7 separate regions of the Homo sapiens genome follow, and all the other regions are linked to region 7. The links are contacts of gene promoters, found by promoter capture Hi-C in blood cells and fetal thymus (Javierre and others, 2016). All regions are on one chromosome and are shown on one strand. Each heading gives the region's core, a stretch centred on a gene start or on the middle of the fragment in contact. The rest is flanking DNA. Distances are from core to core; before and after follow the strand shown. Region 1 overlaps PCED1B (PC-esterase domain containing 1B). Region 2 overlaps SLC38A4 (solute carrier family 38 member 4). Region 3 has its middle 56 kb from the start of PCED1B. Region 4 overlaps LOC124902924 (a long non-coding RNA gene). Region 5 overlaps PCED1B (PC-esterase domain containing 1B). Region 6 has its middle 100 kb from the start of SLC38A4. Region 7 holds the start of SLC38A1 (solute carrier family 38 member 1).

Region 1 (3,929 bases), core at 1,430-3,929, 940 kb before region 7:
CAGCGAGACTCCATCTCAAAAATAAAAAATATGCCACCCCAAAATATAGTTATTTGGCATATTTCGAGCTGATTATTCTGAGCAACTGCAGACACAAGAGTATCTCTGAAAAGCTGTCCTTTTGTAAAATAAATTTATATTTATAAAAGAAATCTACATTAGTCAAAGTATCTGTATCAGGAAGAGTCCTGCTCTCAGACAACTTTTATTACCTGGGGGATTCCAGTGTGTGTGCATATAATTAAAAATGTTTTTTCCTTTTCTTTTCTTTTTTTTTGAATTGAGATTTGGTCTCAATATGTTGCCCAGGCTGGTCTTGAACTCGTGGGCTCAAGTGATCCTCCCACCTCAGCTTCCCAAAGTGCTGGGATCACAGGCATGAGCCACCGAGCCTGGCCAAAAATGTTTTTTTCTCCTGTTAATCTGTTTTATGTCAATTTAATTTGTATCCCAGCCAAAGAACCTAGAAGTAGGGAGGAAGCCATTTTCCCTCCCTTACAGCACAAAATAACTAACCAACAAGAGTAAGAGGTTTCACAACAGTCCTGAATTACATGCTCTGAAGACTTAGCTTTTTTTAATAGTATGCTATTTATGTAAACTGGATTATAATGTGACATAATTGTCTTTCCTTGAAAAATATCATTTTACTTTACATCACTGTCTATTCAGTGTGTGGCTTAAAATTAATTCCATACCTTATGCATTGTTTTCATCCTCTATGGCCATCAATAAAGTTATCTTGCAGTTCCCCATGAGTTTTAGTACAGTCATTACCGGGAAATTTAATAGAATCAAGGCAGAACCCAACTGATAGCTTTAGTATTTTATAATCCAGAGTAGTCTATTACATAACTTTGAAAAATCTGCCATTATTTAGTTCTAGCAATTCTATAAATGAATTGCAAATCTTTCTAGTTCTGTAGATTTCAGCTAGTCTGTGCACTGTGAGAATAAAAGGACAATCTCTGTAATCATCCCAAGACCAGAGAACAGAAGAGCTGTAATAATGCAAATGATAATCACACTTATACTCTTTAAACTTAAAATAAAGTTGAGATCAACAGATTTTCAACTGATTTTCTTGCTTTCAAGAACTTATTATGCTCTATGTAGACAGCTACTATTGCTATTCTGGCCCTATCTCATGTTTCAAAGCTCAGTGAGCCATCTTTTATTTTTTACCCACCAAACTTGGCTTTTTCTTAAACAGTAATGACAACTTATGCACATATAATGTTTTACCCTGTGAATGTGCTTTCACACACAGATATCCTTTACTATTAGCAGCTCATTAGTAGTTATAGCCACAGAGAAATTTAAACTTTGCTTTATGCAAGCCATTACCATTTTATCCACATTTTCTATCTTAAGGAACGCAATTATTTTTCTTATCTTCTTGGGAATCCTATAAGAGGGCCAGAAATCAGCCCATTAAATATATACATATATATACATTAATTTCAGCTGGCTCGTGTGTGTATGTGTTTAAATCTATTCCTGGGCTGCCTTAAACGAATGGGCCAAATTTGGCAAATCACAAAACTATGTTTTTTTCTTTGGTTGTCTGACTTAAACAGTCCACATATTTTTGATAATTTCTCTTCAAAGCACTCACAATTAGTACTTTCAAGCACATATGAATAATGAATAATTTGTTTCTATTAGGGTACGAAATCTTCTCTGATAACATATTAGGAACTTTGAGATTCTGGATTAAAACTTCTCATGAGTTCGATTTAGTAACAGAACTAAATTTTGCACGAAGTATGTGCAAACTTTGTGTTGATGAACAAGGCAATACTTATTGGGATTTGGGATGTTACAGATTGAGAAAAGCCAAATCAGTGATTTCACTATTCAGGATGGATGGAATGAGAAATGTGAATTTATAAAAGATCCCATTCTGTCAGGATTTCTTAAACATTTCCACAAAATTCTTAGAATTCTTATGTTTTATGCAAGTTCTGTATTCTGTTCCAATGCAGCCTAGTGGTTCAGAACATGGCCTTTGCAGGCAGAAAAGCCTGAGTTCAGAGTCCCAAATTAATAATCCACAAGCTGTGTGACTTTGGGAAAGGTACTCAACTCCTCTGGCCCACTTCCAGTTGTGAAGTTTAAACCTGCAAAGTGCTAAGCAGACTGCTTGGTACTTAGTAAATGCTCATTTTTGTTCCAGGGATTAGTATACATGCATCCATGCTTTAGTAATGCAAAATAATTCTTTAAATGACTAACCACTGGAAAAAAACGTAAATACTGACAAGTACCTTGTTTGATGGGCACTGTTCCATGGGCTGGTATGACACCATCACTGCAGGAATAGACTGCGCAAGTGGAGGGGAGATGACAGAAATCATCGTTAGGTCAAGTTGAAGCTCGGGGAGATTGAGCAACTGTCTGAATCACACAGGTTAACTACTGAGCTTGGACTAAAGACCAGGCTTCCTGGGTCCTGGACTCATAGTTCCAGAGCTATAGTTCATGAATTTTTTTCTCTAAGGCTGTAAGCTCTTTTTACAGAGAATAATTTAATGCCCTGCAAGAACTGGGTCTTACATTATTTAGCAATGTCCCTTACCTTTAAACCACAGGCTTAGTTTTCCAATTCCGGTCCTCTCTCCTTTTTTCTTTTTGTTTTTTGAGACAGAGTCTCTTGCTCTGTCACCTATGCTGGAGTGCAGTGGCATGATCTCAGCTCACTGAAACCTCCACCTCCGGGCTCAAGTGATCCTCACACCTCAGTCTCCCACCTACCCCCAGTAGCTGGGACCACAGGAGTGAGCCACCATGCCCTGCTAGTTTTTTGTATTTTTGGTAGAGATTGGGTTTTTTTTTTTTTTTTTTTTGAGACGGAGTCTCGCTCTGTCTCCCAGGCTGGAGTACAGTGGCACGATCTCGGCTCACTGCAAGCTCCGCCTCCCGGGTTCACGCCATTCTCCTGCCTCAGCCTCCCAAGTAGCTGGGACTACAGGCGCCCGCCACTACGCCCGGCTAATTTTTTGTATTTTTAGTAGAGACGGGGTTTCACCGTTTTAGCCGGGATGGTCTCGATCTCCTGACCTCGTGATCCGCCCGCCTCGGCCTCCCAAAGTGCTGGGATTACAGGCGTGAGCCACCGTGCCCAGCCGAGAGATTGGGTTTTACCTTGTTGCCCAGGCTGGCTTTGAACTTCTGGGCTCAAGTGATCCACCCGCCTCAGCCTCCCAAAGTGCTGGAATTACAGGCCTGAGCCACTGCGCCCAGTTTTTTTTTTTTTTTTTTTTTTTTGAGACAGAGTCTCACTCTGTTGCCCATAGTAGAGTGCAGTGGTGCGATCTTGGCTCATTGCAACCTCTGCCTCCCAGGTTCAAGCAGTTCTCCTGCCTCAGCCTCCTGAGTAGCTGGGATTATAGCCATGTGCCACTACACCTGGCTCCTTTTTTTTTTTTTAAAGTAGAGTTGGGGTTTCACCATGTTGGCCAGGCTGGTCTTGAACTCCTGGCCTCAAGTGATCCACATGCCTCAGCCTCCCAAAGTGCTGGGATTACAGGCGTGAGTCACCGCACCTGGCCATAAGGTTGTTTTGTCAAGGAAGATAGAAACAGCTTAATATTTTTGGATGTGTGCTGTTCTTCCTTTCTTACTTTATTAGATAAACATCCATCGAGTGCTCCTTCGGTCAGGCACAGTGCTTAGCACCTGAGATATGAGGTTGAGTAGGATATGGTCTTCTCTATGTTCTGTAGCTCACAGTGCAGGGAGGGAAAAACACAGAAGCAGATAACTAGAATTCAATGTTGGGAGTGCATTTATGGCTTTATGTTAGAGTATCACTTCTATTACTGAAAAGGGATTTTTAAAATTCTACTGAAAACATGAAAATGAAAATAGCGCCATGAAAAGTAGCTTCTAGTCATATTCTTTTATGATGAATATTTGCTTTGCAT
Region 2 (3,810 bases), core at 840-3,339, 540 kb before region 7:
CTATCCCAGGCCATATTCTAAGGTTGTAAATTATCTCATTGAAGAAAAGTAAATAAACTAGACACATGCCTTCTTTACTAAGTTACTGCTCTGTGCAAAAATAAAAAAGGAAGAAAGGGAAGGATGGAAGAGAGGAAGGGAAGAGTTGAATAACGAGCAAAAAGTGGTCTTAATTTACCAGTCTACTCAAGAGATAAAAGGAAGGCCATCTCAATATGATTCATATTCTCAATCTCTGTGTGTGTGTGTGTGTGTGTGTGTATATATATATATATATATATATATATATATATATATATATATATCCTTTAGCCATTTATAATCCTTGAAAAGTCATTTTGCCCAAAAATCTAGTTAATACAGTATACTATCTCATATACATCTTCTATTCAATTATTCTCAAATAATTTTAGCAACCATAACATAGAATAACTGTGATTACATGAGATAATGCAAAGCTTTGGAAGAAAATTGTTTTTTAAGCATTTTAGGTGAAAACTCATGCCACAAAGCCATGGTACGTGATCTATTTCTCCACACTGAAATGAATAAAACTCCTCATTTCTAAATCTCAAAGAATGAGTGAAACTGGACCTAATAAAGTATTTGACACCACAGCCTTTTAGTCTTCAGCTCAAATTCTAAGCAATCTTAGCCAGGTTAACCTCAAATTAATGAGAAGTAGCATGTATGCATGCTTGCAAGACTGCCTTGAATTTAAGAGATGTAAAGATGGGAGATTCCCATGTATCTTGTCCAAGACAAGCATGTTGTCTTGTTTGATCAAGAAACTGCCTCAAAGAGAGCCAGTCATCCATTCTTGCTGCCAGCTAATCCATGCACTGATTCATAATGATTAAAAACGTCTTATATTTGATTCTACTGAATGTGATTAGACCAAAACTGTGTGGCTGTTTTGGCAATTAGTACTAAAATGCTCAGCAACATCAAATGGTACAGTGTGAGTGAAATGTAGGTCACTTACTTTAGCATTTGGAAAGTGTGTCGTGGTACATCTTTGGGTCTTCATGTTTTATCAATCTCACAAAAAAGATTAACCCAAAGCAAAGCCAACCAACCCCCCAAATCTGCCAGTACACTTGCATGTTTAAACACTGGCGCTGATGACAGGTTCAGGGGTAAATATGTACCATGGGGCTGTTCAGCTTCACAGGTTGGTTAATATTAAACAAACACATATTGCAAACTGTGCCTTGTTATGAGGTTGTTTTCTGAGATTCCAGGGGTCAGGGTCAAATCCTCACATTTTTCACCTTTTCCCCAGTGCCAACCAATAGTATAACAAGTGAAATAATAGTCTAATACACAGTAACAATACACTTTCAAAGCAAAAAGTGTTGAAGCTAATTTAATTCTATAATCTATTTTGCTAATGTCATTTCACTTTTATAAAAAAGAACAATAGAAATACCTTGTATGTTTATAATGCTGTATATCCAATACATCATTTAACCCTCACAATAACCTTGTCTAAGTTTTCATTAGACCCAGTATTAAAGAGAAAACTGAGTTCCGGAATATTTGCATGACTTTACTTATTCAAAAAAGACTTATTAAATCGGTATCATATTAGGTATTGAAGTCAGAGACAATTCTTTAAATATGCATGTATAACAAATGCTCACAAATGTTCACTATGTGCCAGATGCTCTTCTCAATGCTCTACAAATATTAACTTACTTAATCCTCATAACAGCACTGTGAGGTAGGCACTATTATTATCTCCTTCTTGTAGATGCGGAAACTGAGGCACAGAAATGGCAAATAACTTGCCCAAAGTCAGACAGGATAAAAGACAGAAGTCGGATTTAAGTCTAGGCAGTGGAGCTCCAGAATCTACTATTTGACTCTGTGCTGTGCTGAATAAGACACAGTATCTGTGTTTGAAGACTTCAGAGTCTAGAAGGGCAGGCATGTAAACAAATATGTTACAGTGCAACCCTTAAGCTCAACAGTGAGGCTTGCAAGAGGCACAGACAGCACGAAGGAGGAAGGGGTTAACTTGACTTATCTAAGGTCTCTCAGCTCCTAGGCAGCAGAGTGGGGATTGGATCCGAATCCTTGAGTTTGAACTCCAGAGTCAATGTGTTCTCCATTTCACTGGGCAGATCCATATTTGAGAAAAAGAGTTCGGATTTACAGCGAGAAAACAATAACGAACTTAGAGGAACATAGCATCTGAACACAGGATGAAAGCTGAGCTCATTTGAACAGAAAATAAAGGACTGTGCTTTGTAATAAATATAAATACAGACATAGATATAGGTATGCAGATCTCTTTGTTTATATAACATATAATTAATAAATTAATGTACATATGTATATGTCAACAGAACTCTTGTGAATATCAGTTCAGCTGTAACTCTCCCAGGTTATCTTAAGGCTTATGGTCAGTCAGAATAAAACAGGGCCAATGTGAGGAAGCAGAAGGAAAGCCAAAAGACATAGAGACACTGATGTCAACCATTCTGGGTGCATAATAGATATTCAAAGATTACTCACTGATGGAATAATTGGTTAATTGACTAATTGATTAAAAACAGGAAAGGGAATTAAAAAAATACTAAAGACAGCTCATTCCAATTCACATTTAGTGAAAATTTTGCTGAGGAGAATTAGTGAAATTGAAACATTCAGAATTGAGATTTCATATCGACATGTCAGAATTTTATGCCCAACATTTCTTTTGGATGACCACTTTGATATTTCTCTGACCCCTTTTTAAGTGTAATTACTACTTATTGACATTGTTAAGGTTTTTAATCCAAACAATGGCAAAAAAGAGTTCCACAGGGAGAAAGAAATTTGGCTAGTTTGAACTCCAGTCATGTTTATAGTTTATTTTAGGTTTGTAAAATTCCTTGCTTTAATTTACTAAAATAAAAGAATGTGTACATTTTTTCTGCTGCCACCAATAGTTCTATTGTCACCCTAGGAACTATATACTATTTTATAAATGAGAAAAAAGCTCATACAGTTTGCCAAGTTGTTGATAGCACAGCTAGTAATTTATGGAGTCAGAATTAGAACCCAGATCTTCTGAATCAAAGTCCAGCACTGAGTGTTAGCATAACAGAAGAGAACATGTTCAGACATTCAGATCAATAGGGTGTCAGAAGACTTCTCATGTAGATAAAAAGGGATGAACAGACAGTTTCAAGACAAAAACAGTGAAGCTCCTCTCAGGATTCCTCAGAAAAAGCTAATGCTAAAAGTCTTAAGCAAACATCAAAGGAAATGCCATCAGCCTTTAATTTAAAGAGAAAGAAAAGATGCAAGCAAAACTATTTAAGTCAATATGATTATCTTATTCACATGTAAAAATCAGATTACCCATCCAAATAAGCACATATCAGTCTTTCAACTGTTACTTGTAACACTATACTAGACCCTATTAAGAAATAATTAAGGAATATAAATGCTTGCAAATTAAGATATTAATTAATATTACTGGAAAATTGCTCATATATAATTAACTTAAGCATTGATCTTCACTTAGGTGGATTTTAAAATAATTAAGACAAGTTGAAATATGTTGAAATTCAGAGTCTAACTTAAAAAATCAACTTCAAATATCTAGGAAGGAAGAGTCAGGATTTCTATAGTTAAATATTCAACTCCTGTAAGACTTGCAATTAGCTTTTTTTTTGACATAGTTTACATCATTTGAAGCAAAATACTTCATGAACCTAAGCTTTTCTGTTCTTAGCCTAATACAATAATCCTGATGGTCCAAACACAAAGCAGAGGACCAGGTCCACATAAACACTCTCTCGAGGGATGCAATGT
Region 3 (3,510 bases), core at 776-3,275, 750 kb before region 7:
ACTCTCTGCTTGCCATACAGTAAGTGCTCAGTATATATTTGTTATTTTTTCTATTGACTGATTAGACTTGGAGGTTGAGTGAGAGGACAGATCTAGGTTGGTTCACAGTTTTCTGGCTTGACAAAGTATAGGATCATTGAATGCTCGAATCTGCATTATTAATATTGAGTTGTCTCTCCAGACAGGATAGTCCATGTTGATAATCCAGCCACAGTTATATATCAACTCCAGTCCAAAAAAAATTCCCCAAGAGTAACTATTAATATGTTCCATTTCACTTTATTTGGGATTACTAAGATTGTTAAAAGAAGATGATAAAAGACGGAGACTGGGCACAGGGTGATGAAGAATGCAGAGACCTTCATTTGGTACTGGCAGTACATTCAAGCATCTTAAGTTTAAACTGGGAAGAATCTCAATCATTTCTTGGACCAGCTACCTAAAACTAATAGAAAAAAGGCAATGTTTGAAAACTAAATGGATTTTTGGCATTCAACAGCTAGAGAAAATGAGTTTGGGGGCTGAGGGTTTGGGGGAGGGAGGGCGGTATTTTATAAAGGTCACTGTCCCAAATGGAAGTCAAATGCTTCATCTTCTTTAACTGCAACAGAATACAGCTTTTTCAAAAAATGAATAACCAGTGAAGGATATCTTGGTTTTCTTTCTTACCCATTAGAGATAACTGATAAAAGTTAGGCAATAGAAGAGCTAGTTGGTAAAAATTCATATTAATTAATTTGTTGGTAAAATTATATATTCTTATAAATTATAATAAAGCCATAATGTAGAATTATAATTATATCAAAATTATAAGTTATTTTGTTGGTAAAAATTCATACTATTTTATGTCTCCTTGGTGGCTACTCTGACACATTTTCTTTAGTTTTTTTTACTAGATCTAAATGAATCAGAGGGCAAAGATCTACATTTATCTTGTCAATTTCCCCATATCCTAATTATATGATATAATTATTGTATTTTATAATTATTTTATGTGTACATAATATGTACTTAGCATATATATCATATAATTATTGGATATATTATATTTTTCTTGTATCTTTGTCTCAATGCTACAAAGAGAATAATAGTAAGGATAATAAATTACTTTCTAACATTAGCTCTGACCATCATACACTGTAACAGAGCTTTGGCCAATGCGTGGGCAGTGGCATGCTGGAGCTGGCTGTAGTAGCAGCTCAGAAGAGCTGATTGCGAGCATTTCTTTCCAACTCCTTTTTCAGTGACCTCAAGCTGGAAGCTTAAAATGAGACATAGTGGGAGTAGTTATACCATAAATACAGTACAAATCAGGGCTTTTCCTCCTAACAAACTAGTTTACCAGCACATCATTGATTAAATGTCAGAAATATATATATATAAAGATCTATTTTGTGTGGTATCAGGTGGCAGGAGAGAGGAAAAGGAGAGGTTTTGATTGCTGGAGAAGTGAAAGGGTCTTGAATTCAGCATCAATTCATAAAATTGGTTGAATCATAGAAATCTGCTAAGCTTCAACTATTTTTGTTTACAACATATCATATGGTTCAACCTAATACATGAGGCTGCAAGTAACAGAAACCCCTACAAACAATAGCTTATATAAATAAAACTTTTTGTCACATTGCAAGGAATCCAAAGGTAAGAAACGTCCTGATACAGCTATTCAATGAACTCAGCGATGCTGTCAGAGACCTATCATCCTGTTGCATCATCCTTAGAAAATTGACTTTTGTCCAGGTGAGATGGCTCACGCCTGTAATCCTGGCACTTTGGGAAGTGCAGGTGGGCAGATCGCCTGAGGTCAGGAGTTCGAGATCAGCCTGGCCAACATGGTGATACCCCGTCTCTATTAAAATTACAAAAATTAGCTGGGCATGGTGGTGCATGCCTGTAGTCCCAGCTACTAGGGAAGCTAAGACATGAGAATCCCTTGAACCGGGGATGTGGTTGCAGTGAGCCGAGATCATGCCACTGTATTCCAGCCTGGGCCACAGGATGAGACTCCGTCTCAAAAAATAAAAGTTGACTTTTGTCCTCAGGCTTGTCATCTTATGGTCACAAATGTCTGCTGTGCCTCCAGGGACTATGTCTTCATTGCAGGCAGAAGAGAAGAGAAAGGCAAAGGCTGTCTTCTGTAAGTTTATCAATGTTAATCAGAAAGACAAAAGTTCTTTTCTATGTTATCTGTGTTAATCAGAAAGACAAGCCCTGGAGGCTCATTCAAAAACTTCTGCTTTCATCTCATTGACCAAAATTTGTCACTTCATTCCCAGACAAAGTTACAAGATTACTAAGATTACTAAGGCTGGTTTAGACCAATCATAATTTATCCCTGGCCCTGGGATGAATCACGATTGGTTTAAACCCATCCATAAATACTCGACAGAGGGAAAGATCTCAGCAGCCACCTGAACGAACTTAAGGTTCCATTGGCTTGGGGAGGGAGGGGTGGATATAGGAAGAACAACAAAGGAGATCTATCACAATGCCCTTGAATTATGAATCCAGGAATCTAGAAACAAAGTAACAAGCTTTCCCATTTCTTGGTTTAGCTATGTAAAAGTAGTTCTATGTGTGTGTGTGTGTGTGTGTGTGTGTGTGTGTGTGTGTGTATCAGTGGTTGTTAAGCATTGTATTTAATTAGCATGCAGCTCAAAAAGTAGTTTGGCAAAATTTATATATTATATGATCACAGCATTAAAATTTATTCTTGAAGTCTCAGTCTTTACACTTTAATCTTTACGTGGCACAGTGGTCTGTTTACAACTTTTAAAAAAGATTGAGAGGGCCTTAAAGTAACATCACTGATCTAGCACGTTGGCCTAATAGATTGTTGGGAGAAGATAATGATATAAGATAAGGTATGTTATAATATAAAAATTTCTGAATAAAGAGCCTAATGCTAGCCATTTTAAGGAAAGCAGAAGGAGTAAATATACTCTTCTGCAGTGGTGATGGCATCATTTAAAAACTCTCACAAGTTATTTACCTACCTTGACATTGCAGGATCATGTTATCCAAGTGATTTGTAGTCTTGCCTCTGGAATAATGGCAGATCAACCAGTATAAAACCCTGGGTAATATACTAGTCTGAGTTAACTGTTTATACTTCGCTTTCCTGTTGATTTACCTATGGCAAATAAGACAATGCATGTCAGTTCTGCTCTTGGCTAGACTTTGTAGAGTAGTAGGTACAATGCATGTTTTCCTGACATGGTTATAAAGTATTTTTTGTCACATTTATAAGCACGGCTTCAAAATTGGACACACTTAGGTTTTATCCAGAAGCTGCCCTTTACTGTCAATGTGGCTTAAAATAAGTTATTCAATGACTCAGCCTGGTTTCTTCCTTTATAAAATGAAACTTTATCAGGTTGTGTGAGGACTAAGTAAGAAAAGTATGTAAAGTATTTAAATCACGTGGCACATACTAAGAACTCAATTAAATGGAGGTGGTTTTTGTTTCTGTTTTCCTGTGTTTGCTTTAAAGAAAATTTTTCTGAAATG
Region 4 (3,683 bases), core at 740-3,239, 680 kb before region 7:
AACCATCAACACACTGATAATTTGATTAATGATGCAATTTTTCCTTTGCTTACCTTAGGAAATCAAATAATTAAATCTAATTTTGGAGTGTTTATTTTATTTTTGTTTTATTACTCTGTCACCCAGGCTGAGTGCAGTGGCACAATCTGAGCTCACTGAAGCCTCGAACCCTGGGGCTCATGCAATCTTCTTTTTATGGGCTCCCAAAGTGCTGGGATTACAGGCATGAGCCACTGCACCTGGTCAGTGTTTATTTTAAATTGTGTTATTTTTAACTACTCATTCTTTATTTTATTTTGTTTTTTTGAGATGCAGTCTCACTCTTTCACCCAGGCTGGAGTACAGTGGTACAATCTTGGCTCACTGCAACCTTCGCTTCTTGGGTTCAAGTGATTCTCCTACCTCAGCCTCCTGAGTAGTTCGGATTACAGGCATGTGTCACCACGCCCAGCTAATTTTTGTATTTTTAGTAGAGAAAGGGTTTCACCATGTTGGTCAGGCTGGTCTCGAACTCCTGACCTTGTGATCTGGCCGCCTCGGCCTCCCAAAGTGCTGGGATTACAGGTGTTAGCCACCACGCCCAGCCTCATTCTTTATTTTTAATACAGAAAGAAAACTCGTTACTGACTTAGAGTAAATGTGATATAGTAGCTTAAAAATAATTAATTTGGAGGCAATTGAGTAATTAATTTGGAGGATTGAGTGTTCTGCTGCTTATTAGTTACGTAAACTTTGGACCTGAATCTTTGCATTTCTGAGCCTCACTTTTCTAATCAGTAAAGTGGAGGTAAACAAAGAGCAGGATTATTGAGAAATGGCCACAGAATGGAGTGCAGGCCATTCTGAGATGATGGAAATTTTTGTTTGTTTTGCTTTTTTTGAGACAGTCTTGCTTTGTCACACAGGCTGGATTGCAGTGGTGCGACCTCAGCTCACTGCAACCTCCCCCTCCCAGATTCAAGGCATTCTCATGCCTCAGCCTCCTGAGTAGCTGGGATCACAGATGAGCACCACTACACCCAACTAATTTTTGTATTTTTAGTAGAGACGGGTTTTCACCATGTTGGCCAGGCTGTTCTCGAACTCCTGGCTTTATGTGATCCACCCACCTCAGCCTCCCAAAGTGCTGGGATTACAGGCATGAGCCACTGTGCCTGGCCGCATGACGGAAATTCTATAATTGGTGTCCTCCAATGCAATATCCACTGGCCACAGGTTGGCTGTTGAGCACTTGAAACATAGCAAGTGCAACTGAGGAACTGAATAAATTTTATTTAATTTTATTTAATGTATGTTTACATCTGAATAGCCACATGTGCTTGGTGGTTCCTGTATTGGACAGTGCAGGTATGTAGACAGCAGAGGGAGATGCAGAAGTGCAAGGAGAACTTAAGATGCCAAAGCCAGGAGGTACTGAAAAGAGAGAGAGAGAGAATGAATCCATCAGCCTGTGTCTGTTTCTGAGTTTTTGCTCATTTCTAATCCATGCTTACCCCTCGAAGATCCTCCTTTTTCTTGAAGTAACTTCAGTGCATCTTGTTCCTTCTCACAGAACTCATCTGAATGTTCACACTCAGAACTAGTGAGATTAGAGAAAGGATCAGAAGCCAGGTGTCCTGATATTCCTTAAAGCTCCTTCCAGTAATGTCATGCTCCTGTCTTTCTCTTTCCAAAGAGAACCTATGTGTACACACACACGCACACACACACACACACACACAATCATTTCTCTGAGACTTGTTCTGGCTTTGAAAATTTATGTAAAATTTTAATATCAATTTTATTTGCAAAAGCATGTTTTCAGGAAGTAGTCTGACTTGCCACAAATTTCTTTGGATGTAATTGTGTTGGACATTTTTTATCTTGTTTATTGCAAGAAACTTTTAATATGCTTGATAGCTTCAGTGTTATGTCCATCCTTTCCCTGCAGTGGCTGACTTCCTGCTGCACCAGTCCAGGCATTTTTGTGCCAGTTCCCATATGTTCATGTAGCCCCAAGGCAGATTTGCTGATATGCAGTGGGTTGAAAAAGAATACTTCTACGAGCGCAACATTGCATACCAAGGAGATTATCTTTTAGAAAGACTTAAAAGTCCAACAGATATGCCACAAAAGGTTAGATGACATTGATGGTTAGCAACTAGGAGTGGTAAGCACAGATATTAATGGACAGTACACAATCATTCATCTTGACTCTAGATTATACACCGAACTAAAAAATAAAAATGGATTGCTTTAATAATCCCTTTCTTTCTCATCTTCTCATTTAATGGGTTGGAGATGCTAAACCTTCTGTACTAACCCAATAATAGTTGGTAGAAATAATGGATATTTAAACTATGTTATCTGGCTCTGGGAAAGCCACTCCTAGAAAATGGGAAGAGGGGCTGGATGCGGTGGTTCATGCCTGTAATCCCAGCACTTTGGGAGGCTGAGGTGGGCAGATCACAAGGTCAGGAGTTCGACACCAGCCTGGCCAATATGGTGAAACCCTGTCTCTACTAAAAATACAAAAAAATTAGCTGGGCGTGGTGGTGCATGCTTGTAATCCCAGCTACTTGGGAGGCTGAGGCAGGAGAATTGCTTGAACCTGGGAGGCGGAGGTTGCAGTGAGCCAAGATTGTGCCACTGCACTCCAGCATGGGCCACAGAGTGAAATTCCATCTCAAAAAAAAAGAGGAAAAATGGGAAGAGGTTTATTTACTTCTAAATTTGACCAAAGAAATACCATTAATTAATTAATGGCTTAAAAGTGGTATAGAAACATGAACTCAGAAGACCTATCAATGCTTATTTCTCATTAAGATGCATTTCAGAATGCATCCTATTGTTCTTTGGGTGCTAATGAATCCATATTTAAAACATGCACACAAAAGCATCTCTCATGCTTCTGAGACAATTGCTGTAAAAATGCACCAGTTGATGGTTTGCTTAAATGGAGCAAATTGTCACCAAGTTGCACAGCCTTATTATCTGTACTGTCACTGCAGAAAATCTCACTGTGTATGTGACCTGAATGCTTATTACCTAGTGGAAAATTCCATAAATGCAGAATAGCCTACAGCACTCAACATCTGCCTTTATTTTTTTTTTTTTTATAATCAAACACAAGGGATTGCCAGGGAATAGCTCCCAAAACCATGGGGCCTCTTTACAATCCTCTGTCATTTTTGTCTATCTATATTAATTCTTAAACTGCATCCATTCAAATTGCCATGCTTCAGCCCTGAGGAATGTAAATAAGGAGGCAATTATGAAGATGTGTTTTCCGGTGCCACACATTTAAATGATTAGCTGAAAGTCAAATGTTAATGTCACAAAATAGAGAAATAAAATATATTCAAGGTATTTTGCCCATAGTTAATAGGCTAAACTAGAGCAAGCAATCTAACATTGCAAGGAAATTTGAATGTGGAGACTCAGTGTTCTTTTATTAGCTAAATGTACAGAACAGTAGATATATTTCATTTGCTTTAGCCTCCAGGCAGGATTGGAGGGATTGTGGGGGTAAAGGTGAAGGAAGAAAATGTGTGGAGATGGATTGTATGACAAAATGTAAGTGTACAGTTAGGCAGGGATGTGAGATGAGAAGACAATTCAGAGCACAGTCCTCAACCTAAAGTTGCCAAGTGCTCACAGACAGCAAGGAAATTCTTTATTTTGTAGAAATAAGCTATGAGCTC
Region 5 (3,713 bases), core at 94-2,593, 930 kb before region 7:
TTATTTTTTATATATTTTTTAATTTTTAAGATGGAGTCTTGCTCTTTTGCCCAGGCTGGAGTGCAGTGGCACGATCTTGGCTCACTGCAACCTCCGTCTCCTGGGTTCAAGCAATTCTACCTCAAACTCCTGAGTAGCTGGGATTACAGGCGCCCGCCACCACGCCCAGATAATTTTTGCAATTTTAGTAGAGACGGGGTTTTACCGTGTTGGCCAGGCTGGTCTCGAACTCCTGGCCTCAGGTGATCTGCCTGCCTCGGCCTCCCAAAGTGCTGGGATTACAGGCGTGAGCCACGGTGCCCAGCCCATATATAAACTTTAGATGAAGTTTTTCAGTGTTTTTAAATTGTTTCTTCCTTTGCTACTGTGCTAAATAATACCTAAAACTTACTGAGCATTTACTGTATGTCAGGCAACATATAGTGATTTATATGTATTACTTAAGTTAAGCTTGAACAATCCTTGAGTTAGGTACTATTATCTCCATTTTATGGATCAGAAAACTGAGGCACAAATAGGTTGAGTATCTTGTTTCTGGTAGGCACATCTAGTAAGTGGCAGAGCCAGGATTTGAAGCTAGTTGCTCTAATGCCAGACACTTAGCTACTAAGTTCTACTGCCTCCTAGCAAAGCACTATTAAGTTGAAGTTGATATTATTTACCTACTTTTTTATGGTTACATATTTTTAAAAAGTTACACACATAAACACTCTACTTTAAAAATGTCAATATATTCAAATTTTGTAACATAGTGTTATATGTAATAGTCTTTGCAAAGTTAAAAGAATTCATTTATTTTGGAACTGAAATTAATGCATCACCTAGTTTGACTAATCTTTGGAAAATTGGGCTAATAGAATATTGGAAGGTGTGGGAAGAATTGTAATAGAGACCAGAAAACTAAGCAGTTTTTAAAAAATGTAATTATTAAGTTCAAGAAAAAAGCAAATGGTTAATAAAACATAACCATAGCCCGTATATTATAACATTAAGTTCTGACTGCTATCTGCATGGGCATAATAAAATGAATAATGAATATTTAACTATACATAAAATGTGAATAGAGGGTGAGGAAATGAAGAATGAAAAAAGTGGGAACAGACAACTCTGGTAGACTCAGGTATGATTTTCTTAGATCTTCCTGACTCACTTCAATATCTGATATTAAACTCTACTGGGGCTGCTGTGAGCAACCTTCTTGTTTCTGGCCCTTACTGTAGCATGTTACTTACAGGGGCTATACCTTCCTTAATACAACACCCATCCCTCCTCTACTCTACTATGGTGGGGTTTTTTTTTGGGTAGTTGCTGCCTCTAAGTGAATTTAGAAAGATAATCAGAGGAAGGAGGGTGGGTAGAGGGAAAATGAATAAATTTGTAGTCACCAGCTATCAGATAGGTTTGGATTGTACACATAATTAATATGGAGAAAAATTGTTTCATTTTCTCATGATCCTCATTTTCTCCCTCGAGACATTAGCTGTCACCTTCAGAAATATTTCTTTTTTTCTTTTTTTTTTTTTGAGACAGAGACTCGCTCCATCGCCCAGGCTGGAGTGCAGTGGCATGATCTCGGCTCACTGCAACCTCCGCCTTTTGGGTTTAAGTGATTCTCCTGTCTCAGCTTCCCGAGTAGCTGGGACTACAGGTGTGTACCACCATGCTCGGCTGATTTTTGTATTTTTAGAAGAGACGGAATTTCGCCTTGTTGGTCAGGCTGGTCTCGAACTCCTGACCTCATGATCCACCCGCCTCCGCCTCCCAAATGCTGGGATTATAGGCGTGAGCCACCGCGCCCGGCCTACTTTTAGAAATATTTCTAAAGATGAATTCCAAAAGACTAAAACAGGCTTTTCTTCCCCCCTCTCATACAAGAACACATTTCTTCATTTAACAAGTTAAATATATAATACTAATAAATAATTCACAATACTCAAAATGAAGATAATAACTTTAAAGAAGAGGAATTATGAAACAGGATAAGTGGCCAGTGCTGTTTCTGAACACAACAATGCCATTTACTCTCGAATTTAGCCACACGGCACCTTTCTCTTCCTCATTAAAACCCTGGCCACATATTGCTGCTTCTGCCATCTAAGGTCTGTTCTTTAAATAGCACATGGAACTCCGACCGGTATGACCTTTCTTGTTGGCAGGTCATCTGAGGATATTAACTGGAGTACTTTGTCCCACAGTTCCCAGAAGAGCAGGAGACCTCAATATTCTAAGAAGCTTCACTGTTGAAAGTCTAAGTAGTTTGCCAAAAATGATTGATTTTCTTTACACTAAGGAAATTTCTCTTGTGTTTGCAATAAGTAGCTATCAAAGGGACATTTGTGGTTCTAAATTAGTTCCAGTACCTGTAAAGAGACCCATCCCAGCAAGGTGCGGTGGCTCACGCCTGTAATCCCAGCACTTTGGAAGGCCTAGGCAGGTGGATCACGAGGTCAGGAGTTCGAGACCAGCCTGACCAACATGGTGAAAGCCCATCTCTATTAAAAATACAAAAATTAGCTGGGCGTGGTGCTGCGCGCCTGTAATCCCAGCTATTCAGGAGGCTGAGGCAGGAGAATCACTTGAACCCAGCAGGTGGAGGTTGCAGTGAGCTGAGATCGTGCCACTGCACTCCAGCCTGGGCGACAGAGTGAGACTCCATCTCAAAATAAAAAAAGACCTATTCCTGAGAGGAGGCAGGCAGTGGGGAGACAGATGTGTTTCAGGAGCATGGAGGGAAGTTATCTGAAAAATGCTGGCTGCAAAGGGCAAGCGGCCACTCCTGCAAGGAGGTCTCAACACAGTATGACCAAGGGCCCTGCAGGTGGCAGAGCACAGCAAAAGCACAGCAAGAGCATGTGGTATTTATTCAAAGCCAAGGGAGGTAGGCAGGAAACCAGAATGCAGCTTAGTGAGGGCAAGAGCAAGGCAGGGCCCCAGCCCCAGCAAGACTGAGCAATGAAATGGCTTTAAAATAACAACAATCTGCAGTTATCAAAACTGGGGCCAAAATGGCAGACACCCTGAAATAAACTGGTGAAATGCAATCTTAAAACAGATGAACAGCAAATGAGCTAGAATCTTGGAGACTATTTGGTTGCCTCATATGATTTATAGGACTGGAGCAATGTTGCTGATCCTTATACTGAAATTTATGTCACGGGGAGAAAATATAATTCTAACTTACTAGAGAACCATGATTGAAGCTACTCAGGGCTGAGTGGGCAGAAGTATATCTTTGTCTCTGAGGGAAATTGTAAGACTTGCTTGTAGTTTATAAAAGTCATCCATAATTTTTAATCTTTTGTTTTGGGGGTCAGCCAAAATCCTACACCCTAACTATTGTAATCCAGGCGAGTGAAGGCAGTAATCTGAATTACCATGGTGATTGAGGGTTGGGGAGAAGGTGATGGGCTGAAACAATGACTGGAGTGGAAAGGGGGAAGGGGGCAGGAATTCAGGAATTGTGAGCAGGGAATTATTATAAAGAATGGTTCCCTGGTTTCTGCATTGGCTTGAACAACTCTGAGTGGACAGTGATGCTCATAGGAAGTGGGGACGGTCAGATGCCGGAATGCAAAATCCGGTCTCACTTTGTACTTCCTGTGTGAACCTGAGTCAGTTACTCAACCTCTCTGAGGATACAACAAATTTGAGAGTTCATATTTTGGTACATATGAGAGTCTATTAATTGTTAAGCCCTACAGTAAGTGATGAGA
Region 6 (3,899 bases), core at 1,004-3,503, 660 kb before region 7:
CACTTTTTAATTGAGTTGTTTTCTTGTTGTTTTTATTGTATTGAGTTTTGAGAGATCTGTATATATTTCAGACAGCAGTTATTTATCAGATATGTCTTTCACAAATATTTTCTTCCAGATTGTGAATTGCCTTTTCATTCTTCTGACAATGTCTTTCACAGAGCAAAGGTTTTTAGTTTAATGAAGTCCCGTTTATTCATTCTTTCTTTTATAGATTGTGTCTTGGTGTTGTATCTAAAATGATATCACCACACCCAAGTCATCATTTTCCCCTATGTTATGTCCTAGGAGTTTTATAATTTTGCATTTTACTTCGTGTCTCTGATCCATTTTGAGTTCATTTTTGTGAGGGTGCAAGATCTGGGTGTAGATTCATTTTTATGCATGTGAACATCCAGTTGTGCCAGCATCATTTGTTGAAAAGACTCTTTGCTCCATTGTATTGCCTTTGCTCTTTTGTCAAAGATTAGCTGACTATATTTATGTCGGCATATCTCTGGGCTCTCTATTCTGTTTCTCTGATGTATTTGCATATTCTTTCACCAGCACCACACTGCCTTGATTGCTATAGCTTCATGGTAATTTCTGACATTGCATAGCATCAGTCCTCTAACTTTGTTTTTCTCCTTCAATATTGTGTTGACTATTCTAGATCTCCAAAAAAATAGAATCTTTTTTATCAATAGTTACAAAATAACATGCTGAAACTTTGGAATTGCATTGTGTCTATAGATCAAGTTGGAAAGAACTGCCATTTTGACAATATTGAATTTTCCCATCAAAGAACAGTAATACCTCTCCGTTTATTTAGTTCTTTCATTTCTTTCATCAATGTTCTCTTCATATAAATCTTGGACATATTCAGTTAGATTTATATCTAAGTATTTAATTTTGGAGCTGTTAATGTAAATAGTATTATGTTTTTTCTTTCTTTTTTCTTTTTTTTTTTTTTGAGATGGAGTCTTGCTCTGTCACCCAGGCTGGAGTGCAGTGGCGTGATCTCGGCTCACTGCAAGCTCTGCCTCCCGGTTTCACGCCATTCTCCTCCCTCAGCCTCCAGAGTAGCTGGGACTACAGGTGCCCGCCACCACGCCCGGCCAATTTTTTTTGCATTTTTAGTAGAGACGGGGTTTCACTGCATTAGCCAGGATGGTTTCGATCTCCTGACCTCGTGATCTGCCCACCTCAGCCTCCCGAAGTGCTGGGATTACAGGCGTGAGCCACCATGCCTGGCCAATAGTATTATGTTTTCTTTCTCTCTTTCTTTCAAGACAGAGTCTCATTTTGTTGTCAGGCTAGAGTGCAGTGGTGCAATCACAGCTCCCTGCAGCCTCAACCATCCAGGCTCAAGCTATCCTCCCACCCCAGCCTCCCAACTAGCTGGAACCACAGACATGTGCCAACACATCCAGCTAATTTTTGCATTTTTTTGTAGAGATGGTGTTTTGCCATGTTGCCAAGGGCTGCTCCTGGAGTTGTGCACAGTGAACCTCCAGTAATTTGTCTGTTACAACTTAGGTTTTCCTGCCTCAGTACTGGTTCTGGAGGTGGTTTCTGCCTTGGTAAGTTGTGATTTTATGTATTAATCTGTCTGTTTCTTTAGTTGTTGGTGCAGGTATTTGCCGTGGGACATCACTTCTCCGATGGACCAAGAAGACACATGTAAAAATTGTTCATTTTTCTGTTTGTTCTGCTTCTTACTTGTCAAGATGAGTGATGATGTCCAAGCTCCTTACATGCAGGACCAAAAACTAGAAGTCCTAATTATTATTTTAAAGCATTCACCTTTCCCTCATTTCAAGTCTGTATTGTTGAGAACTATTTACTTTGAGAGGTATTCTCACAATACCAAGTTCTTTAGCTCCTTTATTTTATAGAGTATTTATTAGCGATAGAAGGCTAACAGTCCATTAATGTTGAAAGTGGTCTTAGAAACCATCCAGTCCAATCCATATTTTTAAGGTGAAAATGAGGTTCAGAAAAACTAAGCGACTTGATCAAGGTCATTGAAAGCTAAATTTGGTCAGTCTTGTGCTTTTTCCCACCACATTCCACATCTCTCAATTTTAAATTGCTTAATTTGCAGATCTCTGTAGTAGGAATGAGTGTTTACATAGTCTGCTGTTGTAAGTGGAAGTTTGGCTTAATTTCCAAAAACATCTGATTAAAAACAGTTTTGTATGGTGAGGTCTACTGTTTGATTACTCATTGTGCCTCCACCTCAGTTTTGTAGTGATATCAATCCTGCCTCCCTCAAGTTACAGAGGATGGTGACCCCATTCTCTAGGCAGATTCTGTTCAGTCTAAGCCCAGGCTGGAAACCCTGTTTTCTTTCCAGTGCTTAGCTTAGGAATAAACATGTGACCTAATTTGGGACATTGGGACATAAGAGAAAATCTACTGAGGGGCTTCTGGAAGAGGTTTCTTTGTTCCTAGGAGATAAAAACAATAAAAGATTGTTTCCTGGATGTTGCCACATCTGGATGTGAGGCCTAGAGCTCCTGCAGCTGATTTGGGACTATAAGTGGAGCTAGCTGGAGGGCAAATGGCGAACAGTAAAGAAGATGGATGGGGAGATGGGAACAACCCAGATCTTGAGGACATTGCTAAGCTGCTAGACTTCCTTCACCTTAGATGTTAAATTACCTTATTGTTTGAACCAGTTTAACTTGCCATTTTATGTTACAGCCAGCCAAAGTTAGCCTAACAGAAACAGCTATCAAATGCATATTATCTTATTTCCAAGTTTACTTTAAACATATACTTTGCTTAAATTTAATATAAACCTAATACCTAAACATAGTGTCTGGCCCATAATAGTAATATTTTCCGAGGAATCTAAGTACTGTCTAATTTCTATGCCTACAAATTATGACCATAGTTCTCTGTTCTTCAAGGTCCAGATGTTACAATGTGATGACCTACTCTCCCATATAGGCCTGCCAATTTGGGATTGTTTAGTATATTTTTAAAATCTGAACTAAATGACTTTAATCGACAAGTTCTCCTTACAGTTTGCTGTCATCTTGTGATCTACTGCTTTACTTTACACATTTATGTTACTTGCTGGACCCTTGAGGTATCTGTATTTAAGACCCTGTTAAACTGCTCTGTGCAGAGATAAAAAAAAAATCTCCAACCTCAATGCCCTTTACTCCAACTAGTTTCAAACATTATAGGTAGCTCAGAAATTCTGTATCTCCAGACACTAGGGTTTGTATAGGCCAGTGCTTCTCAATCCTGGCTGCAAATAAGAATCAGCTGGGGAGAATTTGAAGTCCTGATGTCCAGGCACCATCCCAAAGGAAGTAAGTTAGAATCTCTGGGAATGGTACTTAAAAAAATTTTTTAAATACTTTTAATTTTGAAATAATATGAAACTCACAAAAAAGTTACAAAAAATATCAAGAATTTCTGTATACAATTCATCCAGATTCTTCTTTCTATCTTTATCATGTTCTTTGTCTCTGTGTGTGTGTTTGTCTCTCTCTCTCCCTGTGTCTCTCTAGAATACTTTTCTCTATACACACATATTGTTTTCTGAAACATTTGAGAGTAAGTTGAAGACATGACACTACTTCTAAATATTGTATTGGGCATTTCAGTGTATATTTCCTAAAGCAGGGGTCCTCAACCCTCCTGCCACAGACCTGTACCCAGTCCGTGGCTTGTTGGGAACTGGGCTGCACAGCAGAAGGTGAGTGGTGGGTGAGCGAGCATGACTGCCTGAGCTCCGCCTCCTGTCAGATCAGCAGCAGCATTACAGTCTCATGAGTGTGAACCCTATTGTGAACTGCACATGTGAGGGATCTAGGTTGAACGCTCCTTATGAAAATCTAATTCCTGATGACATGAGGTGGAACAGTTTCATCCCGAAACCATCCCCAGACCCCAACCCC
Region 7 (3,828 bases), core at 1-2,500:
TATCATCTTGCTTTTCCAGTGGTGATGAAAAAGCAAAATTCACCCAAATACAATGACTACTGTCTACTTGAAACGCTCCAGGTAGTTAATTTTTGAATTATGATTCACCTTCCCTTTCCTGTTTTGATGAACCATGAACAGGAGACTGAACCTTCCCTATCAATAAAAAGCTCGCGTTTCCACCCTGCAAATTCGCGCTATGACAGTCTAATTGGCTGAGGCGCAGGTGGGATTTCCTGTCGCCATTTTAAGACACAACTCCTCTGCAAGCAAGTGCCCAGCCAGTGAAAGGGGGCTGTGTCTGAAACAAAGAGTAAGCGGGAAAAAAGGGAACCAGGCCCAGTTGCCCCTGCTCCCCTCCATGCCGCTCCCTCGTCCCCCGGACTTGGAGCGCCCCAGCTCCGTTAACCTGGACGCACCAGGTCCTTCGGTCGGGACCACGTGGGGTCTCCAGGCCCTCCAAGAGCTGGCCCCCGGCTCTTTGCGCCTAGGCCGGTGCTTTCTCGGTGCTCAGCAAATCCTTCTGGTTCACCTCACACCCAGTCCCCAAAGCAGAGCTCCACAGGGCAGATCTCAGGAAGGGCTGACCAGGTCTGCGGGTGCTGGATCCGGAAGAGGGGAGGTGCCTCCCGCTTCAGGTTAGGGACAAAGGGTTTTTAAAGGTGCCCGAGCTCCCCGCCGCCCCTGCCACTTCGGTCCCCTTCCCGCCAACCCGGGCCATCTGCAGGCTGTGCCCAGGGCCAGCCCTCCGCTCCAACGCTGCCCGTAGTCCCAGGCGCTGCCCGCGGCTCTCCGGGCTGCGCTCGGACCTGCCACTCCCGCGGCCATCCTCATGCTGCGCCCTTCCCACAATGCAACTCCCTCGCTCCTTCGGCCCCGGCGGGGCTCTGGCGTACCCAAAATGCAGGCCCCAGCGGAACGCACAGCCCTCCTGTCCTCCGCCGGTGCCCCTTTAGCCGCCCCACCCCCATCCCTAAGGGCTCTCATTCTCCAGCTGCAGCCGCAGCTGGGTTCCGAACACGCCGCCGGGCCCCGGGAGGGAGAGGGGCAGGTGCCAGGGCGGCGCGCAGCCTCTGCTCCCGGTGCCAGCTTCAGTGCGCCGGGCACACGCGCGCCCCGCAACCCCTCCCTCACCCTTTCCCCGTTGCTCAATCTCCGCCAGCCGCGGTCGCTGCATCGTCAGAGAGCTGCAAGAGGGAGGCAGCAAGGTGCGGCCGCCAGCAGTGACACCATGTGACCGGCACGGCTCACTGACACGCAGCTTTGGTTAAAGAGCGGGCGCACAGGAGGGGAGGAGACCGCGCGCGGGACGGGGAGGAATGGCCTGTCCGCGTTAAACCATCACAAGCCATGGTTGCGGAAGGGCCACGCGTCCCCCAGTAGGAGAATGACTCCGATTCGTGACCCTCAGCGCCGGTGCATGTCGATGTAAGTGCGAGGCCGGCGAGCAGAGTGTGAGTGGGGGTTGGTGGTGAGGGGAGATTCTGATGCAATCGGCCCGGAAAGGAGGAGAGCCAGGCGAGCGCGGACTGGGGCGGCCACGCCACTCCGCCAGAAGGTCGCCAGGAGCCTCCGCCCTTCACCTTCCTCCGAAATCCGCCAGGCCACGCCAAGCTCCCTGCCCAACCCTTACTGACGGGGGCCACATTTTCCCGGCCTCCGCAGCCAGACCTTGACACAAAGGACATCAAACTGCCGAGGGTAAAAACCCCGGAAGGGCGGACACCTCCACATCGCCTTTTGCCACCTTTCCCTTTATTTCCGGAGGTAAGGTGATTATCCGTTCCCGGGGAGGGCTGGGCGAGCGGCAAGGGGAGATTTAGATGTCGGAGGAGGAGGTAACGTAGAAATCATCTCTGCGGGCGTGAAAGCAGAGAGAGCTCGGCTGTGCCCGATGCTTTCGGATGTTGCTTTTAGGAGAGGAAAAGTCCAGGTCTCCTGTGCTTCCCGAACGCACGCGGCAGCGGGAGGAAGCGCCAGGGCCCCCGAGTTCACCTTTGCGTGGGCTGTGGCTTACTTTTTGGTTTGTTTTCCTGTGACTTTGGTGTGTTTTCCTGTGGCTGTGGCAGAGTGTGGTACCAGATCTGGTTCCATTTTTACGAGAGCCAGGAACCACGCACGTCTGGAGGGAGAGCGCAGCTGACCCGAGGGCGCGACCGTGTTCTGGGAGTGTTTGAATCCCCGGCCTTTGGTGAAAATTTCCTGTGTCCGCAAGGCCCAGAGGAGATCGTGTGATGTCCGGGGGGTGCTGCGTGCGGCCGGCTGGGTAGCGGCCGCGGACCACCACTAAACCGGGGCATGTTTGCCGTCCTTCCTGGTGCTCTGCCCCTCTGTAACGCGGGGAAGTAGGAGGGCGCGGGGAGAAATTACTAAAGGATGCTTGCAGTGACTCACTGTCCTTTCCTGCCCTGAAGAGGATTTTCTAAAATGCAGAGGGTGGCAGGGGACAGAGGTAGTGTTTTTTCGAGAGCCGGGATGTGCTGGAGCCAGCGAACAAAAGGCCACCTCTTGCGCGGTCTTGGGCGCAGACTGCTCTCGCTTCCAGTCCCACCTCCTCCCCAACCCCCGGCACCTAGTTCGCGTCCCTAAACGTTGCCGCAGAGGCCTTTAAACGCGTGGGTCGGTGCCGGGAGGAGAGCGCATCTTCGCCCTTGTGCGAGCCCCTTGCCCCCTAAATTATCCACCTCCTGGCGCATGGGGCTCCCCAGCACCCACTGGGACCCAGTAGGTTACCCGGCTGCCTGGGCACCGTTTGCCTGCCAAATCGCCCGCCTGAGGTTTGTGCTGAACTGTAGTTAGAGAAGGCACAAGTGCATATGGCAGCAAAAGGAATTTCGCGGTACCCGCGTCACGCCGCTCCCAGTGCCTTTCACAGGCTGCCTTGGGCTGGGGAAGGTGGTGCTACAATTCAGAGTCCTTTGTCTTGCTCTGCGGCGCGGACCCGGGGTTTGTACAAACCCTCGTTCTCTGTTAGAAACCTAACTGCCGCCAGGATCACGTACTTTCTCGGACGAATCCGCGGTGATGTGTGTAGCAAAAGTGAAAAAAGACGCCTCTGCTAGAAAACGGTATTTATTTGCGTTTGGAAGGGGTTTTGACCTCTCTGCAGTGGGTTTTTACATTTTTCAATATAAGGGGGAGGAGGAAAATAAATTTATGGTTTGCAGAATGCAGGGCCCAGCGAGGGTGTAATTTGTCACCTTGATAAAAGAAACTGTGCAGCAACTCGTGCTTTTTCTGACGTCAGAAGGACAACGGAAATAAAACCTGAGCTCGGTGCATGGCTGGCCTCGTTGTCAAATGTCTCATGCCAATTTGGTACTCCCGAAATCTTGCAAAACAGCCAATTCCGGGGTACTGACCTGGTGTGGACCCCCTGGATTTTGGTTCGACCCCAGCCTCAAAATGGCCTTTCTCTTGAGAGTCACTCGATTTCTCAGTATGTCGCTGTAAGCAATTGGAAACTGGAATAGTTTGGTTTGAGGTCTTAATCTTGAGGTTTATTCGCTTTTTAAAAAAATGTGGCCAATAAACATTTTCTACAGAGGGCTTACTGTGCGACTGGCAGCAACTAACAAGATTTGTTTCACCTTCTATGAAGCTTCCGTTCTCAGGGGGAAATAGACTATATAAATGTAGGCATATACATTTCAGGTATTCTTAGTGCAATGAAGAAATAAAACAGGATCATGTGATGGGGGAGGATGCTTGAAATAGAGTGACTCACCGGGAGGGGCGGTGTGAGGGTATAACATTTGTCCTCAGACCCGAATGATGAAAAGGGATCAGCTATTTCCATAATTGAGGGAAGAAGGCCAGCGGAAGGAA

Evidence for each region. The method cuts DNA at HindIII sites, captures the fragments that hold promoters and counts their contacts. A CHiCAGO score of 5 or more calls a contact.
Region 1: a contact is called between a fragment that was not itself captured here and the fragment with the promoter of SLC38A1 in region 7, in 1 of 17 cell types (naive CD8 T cells). The highest score is 5.7, in naive CD8 T cells.
Region 2: a fragment that was not itself captured here is called in contact with the fragment with the promoter of SLC38A1 in region 7 in 1 of 17 cell types (fetal thymus); the score reaches 5.4 in fetal thymus.
Region 3: a fragment that was not itself captured here is called in contact with the fragment with the promoter of SLC38A1 in region 7 in 5 of 17 cell types (endothelial precursors, megakaryocytes, naive B cells and 2 more); the score reaches 8.4 in endothelial precursors.
Region 4: a contact is called between a fragment that was not itself captured here and the fragment with the promoter of SLC38A1 in region 7, in 2 of 17 cell types (M1 macrophages and endothelial precursors). The highest score is 6.3, in M1 macrophages.
Region 5: a contact is called between a fragment that was not itself captured here and the fragment with the promoter of SLC38A1 in region 7, in 1 of 17 cell types (total CD8 T cells). The highest score is 5.1, in total CD8 T cells.
Region 6: a contact is called between a fragment that was not itself captured here and the fragment with the promoter of SLC38A1 in region 7, in 1 of 17 cell types (M0 macrophages). The highest score is 5.3, in M0 macrophages.

The regions. Positions count from the first base shown.
Region 1 is chr12:47,210,995-47,214,923 of GRCh38, reverse strand. The region is part of intron 2 of PCED1B (PC-esterase domain containing 1B); the gene reads right to left. The region is part of intron 2 of PCED1B-AS1 (PCED1B antisense RNA 1); the gene reads left to right. Among named protein-coding and RNA genes, the nearest start is that of PCED1B-AS1, 3.5 kb to the left of the region's middle. The HindIII fragment of the contact is 8,343 bases long and covers 1-3,929 here.
Region 2 is chr12:46,811,736-46,815,545 of GRCh38, reverse strand. All of the region lies in intron 1 of SLC38A4 (solute carrier family 38 member 4), which reads left to right. Among named protein-coding and RNA genes, the nearest start is that of SLC38A4, 12 kb to the left of the region's middle. The HindIII fragment of the contact is 3,257 bases long and covers 461-3,717 here.
Region 3 is chr12:47,022,355-47,025,864 of GRCh38, reverse strand. No RefSeq gene overlaps it. Among named protein-coding and RNA genes, the nearest start is that of PCED1B, 56 kb to the left of the region's middle. The HindIII fragment of the contact is 1,022 bases long and covers 1,515-2,536 here.
Region 4 is chr12:46,948,624-46,952,306 of GRCh38, reverse strand. LOC124902924 (a long non-coding RNA gene) reads right to left here. Exons shown (of 2, transcript XR_007063285.1): 2 at 3,079-3,683. Among named protein-coding and RNA genes, the nearest start is that of SLC38A4, 120 kb to the right of the region's middle. The HindIII fragment of the contact is 6,570 bases long and covers 1-3,683 here.
Region 5 is chr12:47,193,139-47,196,851 of GRCh38, reverse strand. All of the region lies in intron 2 of PCED1B (PC-esterase domain containing 1B), which reads right to left. Among named protein-coding and RNA genes, the nearest start is that of MIR4698, 7.2 kb to the right of the region's middle. The HindIII fragment of the contact is 1,782 bases long and covers 453-2,234 here.
Region 6 is chr12:46,928,539-46,932,437 of GRCh38, reverse strand. No RefSeq gene overlaps it. Among named protein-coding and RNA genes, the nearest start is that of SLC38A4, 100 kb to the right of the region's middle. The HindIII fragment of the contact is 9,619 bases long and covers 1-3,899 here.
Region 7 is chr12:46,266,465-46,270,292 of GRCh38, reverse strand. SLC38A1 (solute carrier family 38 member 1) reads left to right here and starts at 1,250. Exons shown (of 17, transcript NM_030674.4): 1 at 1,250-1,767. It overlaps LOC105378248 (a long non-coding RNA gene), which reads right to left and starts at 1,222. Exons shown (of 2, transcript XR_001749101.1): 1 at 1,135-1,222. RefSeq lists silencers at 701-800, 881-1,060 and enhancers at 1,471-1,570, 1,621-1,670, 810-1,792, 1,791-1,850, 2,776-3,759. The HindIII fragment of the contact is 4,151 bases long and covers 1-3,603 here.